Linked DNA regions of Homo sapiens: region 1 is linked to region 2. Evidence: promoter capture Hi-C in 16 types of primary human blood cells and fetal thymus (Javierre and others, 2016). All regions are on one chromosome and are shown on one strand. Each heading gives the region's core, a stretch centred on a gene start or on the middle of the fragment in contact. The rest is flanking DNA. Distances are from core to core; before and after follow the strand shown. Region 1 holds the start of SPEM1 (spermatid maturation 1). Region 2 overlaps SLC16A13 (solute carrier family 16 member 13).

Evidence for each region. The method cuts DNA at HindIII sites, captures the fragments that hold promoters and counts their contacts. A CHiCAGO score of 5 or more calls a contact.
Region 1: the fragment with the promoter of SPEM1 here is called in contact with a fragment that was not itself captured in region 2 in 2 of 17 cell types (M1 macrophages and M0 macrophages); the score reaches 6.1 in M1 macrophages.

The regions. Positions count from the first base shown.
Region 1 is chr17:7,418,951-7,422,269 of GRCh38, reverse strand. SPEM1 (spermatid maturation 1) reads right to left here and starts at 1,946. Exons shown (of 3, transcript NM_199339.3): 1 at 1,742-1,946; 2 at 1,583-1,643; 3 at 638-1,389. The coding sequence starts at 1,885. The coding sequence ends at 665. It overlaps NLGN2 (neuroligin 2), which reads right to left. Exons shown (of 7, transcript NM_020795.4): 7 at 2,410-3,319. RefSeq lists an enhancer at 1,943-2,462. The HindIII fragment of the contact is 12,172 bases long and covers 1-3,319 here.
Region 2 is chr17:7,037,189-7,040,469 of GRCh38, reverse strand. It overlaps SLC16A13 (solute carrier family 16 member 13), which reads right to left. Exons shown (of 4, transcript NM_201566.3): 3 at 1,581-2,318; 4 at 353-707. The coding sequence ends at 508. Among named protein-coding and RNA genes, the nearest start is that of SLC16A13, 2.8 kb to the right of the region's middle. The HindIII fragment of the contact is 1,491 bases long and covers 1,166-2,656 here.

The sequences.
Region 1 (3,319 bases), core at 697-3,196, 380 kb before region 2:
GCGGATCACCTGAGGTCAGGAGTTCAAGACCAGCCTGGCCGACATGGCAAAACCCCATCTGCACTAAAAATACAAAAATTAGCAGGGCATGGTGGCACACGCCTGTAGTCCCAGCTACTCAGGAGGCTGAAGGCAGGAGAATTGGTTGAACCTGGGAGGCAGAGGTTGCAGTGAGCCAAGATTGTGCCATTGCAGTCCAGTGTGGGTGACAAGAATAGGACTCTGTCTTAAAAACAAAAACAACCCCCCCCACACAAAAACCAACCAACCGAACAAACAACAACAACAACAACAAACTAGTGGCCCATGCCTGTAGTCCTAGTGACTCAGGAGGCTGAGGTGGGAGACAGTTGGGACTGCAGTGAACTGTGATTGCACCACTGCACTCCAGCCCGGGCAACAGAGAAGACCCTGTCTCAAAAAAAAAAAAAAATTGAAAACAAGGTAGAGGCAGGTAAGAGCCTTGGAACCCAGAAGGGCCTAGGAAAGGCTGAGGACAGGGACAGGCCTGTGGGGCAAAAGGTTAATGAGGGTCCTCAGGGCTCAGGGCCCTGTGGCTAGGGAGAGCATTCTCTTCACAGCCACAGCTTCTAGGTGCTGTGTGGGCCCTGGCACCCCAGCACCACCACAGATCACCTCCTCTCTCCTTTTTATTTTTTTCCAGTCACCTCCCAGTTAGGGAACGGTACACCCAATTCTTGCTTGTCTCCTCGGCAGTGCTGGATCCAGAGGCTAGGGGGTAGCAGCCGGACAGGGCCTCCACCTCCCGGGTCAGTTCCCGAAGCCGCCGTCTCATGTCCCGGGCATCATACACTATTCGGCCTGAGGAGCGGTGCCGGGAAAATTCAGGGATGACTGCTGGGCCCAGGGTGGGAGCTGGGACAGGCTGGTACTGAGCCGCCTCTGCCTCTGGCACCGCCCCCTCCCCACCGTTCTTGTGGCTAGGAGCCTCAGGGCTGGGAGGTGGGGGGTTCACAGGATACACATAGGCCCTTAGGCCCAGCTCGGACCATATGCCTGTTTTGAGGGGCCTTTCCTCTACGGTAGGCTGGAAGCGGATGGTCTGGGGAGGGGACTCTGGGGCATCCTGAGACCAGGGAACCCAGGTCCCCTGAGTGTGTTGGAAGCCTTCCCAGTCCTCAGGGACATCCCAGTGGTAGGAGCAGATGGCTGGGTACTGATGAGGCTTCTCGTCATCAGTGTCAGGAGCCCAAGCTACTGGGCAGTGAGCACAGCGTGTGGGAGAGCCTCGACGGCGATGGCGGTGAGCTGGGGGCGGGGACACAGTCATCATCACAGGGTCCATGGTGCACCGAAGATGGACTGCAGGAGAACTCTGCTTCTTAGGGGGCTGGGTCTGCTTTCTGAGTAATGATGACTTGGGAGCTTCTGTGGATGGGGGAGAGGTGAGACTAGTGGGGAGGCCAGCTCCTACAGGCATGGAGAGGCAGGGCCCAGGAAGGGCAGCCACACAGCTATGTTGTCTGAGAGGGGCGAGCAAGAAGGGAAGGGGCTAATTTAGGGCTGAGGCTAGAGCACTTGGTTTCTGCCCCTCCTATGTCCCAGCCCCCAGACCTCTTACCTTTCTCACAAATGGTATCATGGAACACTTGGTATAAGACACCACGGAATCGGCTCCAGAGCTAGGTGGGGGAAGACACAGTGATCCCAGGTAGGCCCTGGCCGGCAGGCCTGCCCCCCACTATCCCACCAGCTCCCTCCCATCTGGCCCCACCCTGACCAGGGTCACTATATTGATGCTAATGTTAATGCAGATGATGAGGCCCAGCAGCAACAGGACAGAGTTGCCCAGGTCCTGGCAGCTGTTGCTGTTGCAGTTGTGATACGAGGCCCACTCGGGCCTCGGCCGCTCAACCATGGCCATGGGGTCCCTAGGACCACCGGGGCCCTTACGCCCCCAGCCCACCGTGCCGACAGTGTCCACTGACTGCCTGCCTGTCCCTGAGGGTCTTGGGAGTGAACGGGTCACAATGGTGCCAGGCCACTCCCTTCCAGTGTGCCAAGGGGCTACCCTGAGTCCTGGACCCGTGGCTGACCCTCTCGCCTGAGTCCAGGCCTTGGCAGAGGCCATGCCTCTCACCTCACATACCTCTGCTGAGCTAGCTGCCTACACCAGCCCACTGGGCCTCTGGCCTGTTTGACATCTGCCCCCATCAGCCTTTGTCCTTCCATTATAGAACGACACCAGGCTCCAGTCTCGGCATAGACACGGGTCCTGACATTCATTTGCCAAACAGACCCATTACCATGGCAACCAGACCCCAGCACACACTCCCCCTTCCTCTCAGACCTCAGAGCTGGTCACTGAAAAGACCCCTCCTCCCTCGTCACTTCCCCAGGGCTTGTTTCTTTAGAGACCGCCCTCCCCACAACAGAGCAGGCACAACCAACAGTTAAACTTTTATATTTACAATATTCTCTTCATCTTTTGCCAGGTTTAAAAATGTGTACAGAGCCGCAAAGGGTTGGGGTAGGGATAAGGGATTGTCGGGATTGTTTTGGGGAGAGGAGCTGGGCATTGGAGTCCGTGGCTGAATCATGGGGTCCCCCAGCCCCCCTCCCATGCCCCAATTCTGAGGGCATCTGTCTACAGGGTTCAGGGCCCAGGTCTCTAGCATTTGGAGGGCATGGCTGTTTGGAGAGGAGCTAGACCAGGCAGGGGAAAGGATCAGAAAATAACTAATTTTCCATGGATGGAGGTAGGAAGAGAAGGGACAGTCAAGAGGCAAAGTTCTGGGGACTCAAGACCAGGGATTCTGGATTTGGGTGTCAGTGGAAGACAGCACCCCAGCCCCTATTCAAGTTTGGCACTAACACCCCACAAAATGCCAGCAGATGAGGACTCTCCCCTCGTCCACTGTGTCCCTTAAGCCCTTCCAGACATCATTCTTTTCCCAAATGCCCAAGCCCAAGGCCCTCCGGGGAGTCACCTCACACATTTCAAATTATTCCTGCTGGTGTCTGCCCAAGCCCTGTCCCCACTGCCCCCTCCATCTGTTCCCCAGCACCGCTGACCTCATTCTCCCAACCTGTCCGGTGAGACCTTTCTCCCCACTGCCTCCCTCCACCATTCAAGGCTCCTTTCTTTCAGACAAGGAGGGGGCGTGGGTCAGAGGAGGGTGGTCAGCTGAGGAGAAGGCTGGTCTGACACTGAGATGGGGACAGCTTCAAAGAGGGGGACGGAGATGAAGGGGAACGGAGAACTGAGGCAGGGTGGGGGAGACATGGTGAGGAGAAGGGGCACAGGCGGGAGCCCCCTCACCTGCCACATCCCTCGCCCTGTATCCTGCTTGCCCTT
Region 2 (3,281 bases), core at 662-3,161:
CTCACGCCTGTAATCCCAGCACTTTGGAAGGCCGAGGGGGGGGGGGGGTGGATCACAAGGTCAGGAGTTCGAGACCATCCTGGCCAACATGGTGAAACCCTGTCTCTACCAAAAATACAAAAAAAAAAAAAAAAAAATAGCCGGGTGTGGTGGCTCCCGCCTGTAATCCCAGCTACTTGGGAGGCTGAGGCAGGAGAATCGCTTGAACCCGGGAAGCGGAGGTTGCAGTGAGCCGAGATCACATCACTGCACTCCAGCCTGGGCAACAGAGCAAGACTCCGTCTCGGGAAAAAGAAAAAAGAAGAAAAGGTTAGGAGAGTAACGGAGAAATAAGAGTCCTCAACAAAATACAAAGGGTTGGCACACACATTGCAGGAGCCCCAGGCCTGCTCTAGGGGGAGGCAGATCAAGAATCTTAAGGCACTGTGGTTCTGTGGAGACCAAGACGTGGCAAGAGAAGACCTGGAGCTGTCAAGCTTTGGCTTTCTGGGCCTGACTCTGTGGAGTTCAGTCCTCTTCCAGCCCCTCCTTGGGTAGGGGAACTTTAGTATCTAGTGCTTCTGTTACAAGGTCCTGGGGCCCGGAGGTAGTAGTTGAGAAGCAGAAGAAGTGGGGCAGGGTGAGGAGAATGCCACTCCCTGAAAGAAGGAAGGCCCCAGCCACCACAAAAGAAGCCGTGTAGTTGCCTGTCACATCCCGGAGGTAGCCTAGGTCCAAGAGAGAAAAAGAATACACATGAGTGATCTATTTGCTGGGGCTGAGGGCTCAGATACATTTTTGGGTGGAGGGAAGACTTATCATCTCAGAGGAGTTGGAACTCCCATGGAATAGTTGGATAAACTTAAGAACTCTGGTTTCCCAAAAGGGCCTCAAAAGTTAATTTCAACCACCTCCCCGCCTTCAGAAAGGACCTCCAAACCAGCCTGCAGGGATTTGGAGATCCAGATTGAGTCAGGCATACTTGTGCCTTTCTTTCTGGCAACTGTGGCCTTTCTTTTTTTTTTTTTTTTGAGACGGAGTCTCGCTCTGTCGCCCAGGCTGAAGTGCAGTGGCGCGATCTCAGCTCACTGCAAGCTCCGCCTCCCGGGTTCATGCCATTCTCCTGCCTCAGCCTCCTGAGTAGCTGGGACTACAGGCGCCCACCAACTGTGGCCTTTCTAAAGCTTCAGTTAATGGGTAAGAGGAGATAAAGGTCTGAAAGTTCTGGCACCCTGAGCCAGCAGAACTTTGACCAGGTGCCTCAGATACCTGGTTTGGGGCCCAGTAGGCCAAAGGAAAGGGTGCACACTGGAATGCTACGTCTGTGTCTGGCCAGGTTCTGCCAGGTCCTCTGCAAACCCAAGCCGTAGGCACCCTGCCAAGGGTTCCACTTAGCTTCTTTTTGTCTTTCCACTCAGACTTTCCCAGCCCCAAGTTCTTTGCCCCATGGACCCATTTCAGGGATGCTATGGTTGGCCACGCAGGCTGTGTACTGTACTACACCAGAGGGCAATATTCACATACACTGTAATGAGAATAGTACCCTCCCCTAGTTGTGCAACATGGCAGCCCTCACCCCCTGGGAACCCCATTCCACTTACCTGAGAGAGGAGGCCCCAGCAGCCCCCCGATGCTCTCTATCATCTGCAACAGTCCCAGGCCACAGTAAATCCTTCTAGTCCCTATTAGTTCAGGCAGCACGGAGAAGGCCAGTGGGGCCAGAGCCCCTGATGTGAAGCCGTAGGCCACAGCCAGAGCCACCAGGGCTGTGGGAGCCTGAGCTACAGGGAACAGGGCTAGTGACACCCCAGTCAAGGTGGTCCAGAGCATCAGGAGTCGTGTCACAGGCCCTGGGACTGCATCTCCCAGCCATCCGGAGACCACACGCCCCACGAGGTCAGAAATAGCAACAACTGAGAGTAGGAAGGCAGCAGGTAGTGGGTCCCAATCCAGGTCCTGGAGATGGGCCACCAGGTGGAGGTAGGGAATGAAGTAGCCAGTGTTGATCAGGGTGAGGGCAACAGTGTAACGGAGGAAGGGGCCATGATGGAGGAGAGAGGTGAGTTGGGCCCTGGGACCACCCACAGCAGGGTCCTCAGCCAGGGAGGGTGGGCGGAGGAGAGCACCACAGGCCACTAGGTGGAGGGAGAGGGCAGACACCAGCAGCAGGGACCCCCTCCAGGCGTAGTGGCTGAGCAGCCACTGGAAAAAGGGGGCAAATGTGAAGGAGGAGAGGCCCACGCCTGTCAGTGCCAGCCCGGTGGCCAGGGATCGTCGGCGAGAGAAATAACAGGACAGGCAGGCCAGGGTCGGAGCGAAGGTCAAAGCCCAGCCAGAGCCTGTCAAAAAGGAAGAAGTGGTGTTGAGAACTCTTAGGGAGCTCAAGGCACACAGTAATCCCCGCATTGCCCAGCAGCAGAATGTAGCACTTGCTTCGGAGTCCCACAGACCTGGGATACAATCTTGGCTTGGATACTTCATAGCTGTGTAACCTTGTGTGTTTTACTTAACACCCCCAGCCTCAACCTTCTCAACTGCAAAATGTAATAATACACTTTTTGGGATTGTGGAAGATTAGAGACAAAGTTTGTAAGGTAACTAGCACAGAACTTTGGAGTTAGACCTGGGCTCTACCATTTCTAGCTGTGTGACCTTCATTTGCCAAGTTGTATAAGCTTTAAAGCTTTTCCCCAGCTGTAAATCCAATAATGATATCGATTTCACAGTCACAGTACCTAGCACCTTTTTTTTTCTTTTTTTTTTTTGAGACGGAGTCTCGCTCTGTCGCCCAGGCTGGAGTGCAGTGGTGCAATCTCGGCTCACTGCAAGCTCTGCTTCCCGGGTTCACACCATTCTCCTGCCTCAGCCTCCCGAGTAGCTGGGACTACAGTCACCTGCCACCACGCCCAGCTAATTTTTTGTGTTTTTAGTAGAGACGTGATTTCACCGTGTTAGCCAGGATGGTCTTGATCTCCTGACCTCGTGATCCGCCCGCCTCGGCCTCCCAAAGTGCTGGGATTACAGGCGTGAGCCACCGTGCCTGGCCCCTAGCACCATTTTATAGTAATTCTTCCTTTTACACTCCAGTCCCATTAGCCCTGGGCTTCTGGGCTTGTATACTTGGTTTCATCTTTTTTTTTTTTTTTTTTGAGACAGAATCTTGCTCTGTCGCCCAGGCTGGAGTGCAGTGGTGCGATCTTGGCTCACTGCAACCTCCGCCTCCCGGGTTCAAGCGATTCTCCTGCCTCAGCCTCCCGAGTAACTGGGATTAGCGCCACCAGGCCCGGCTAATTTTTGTATTT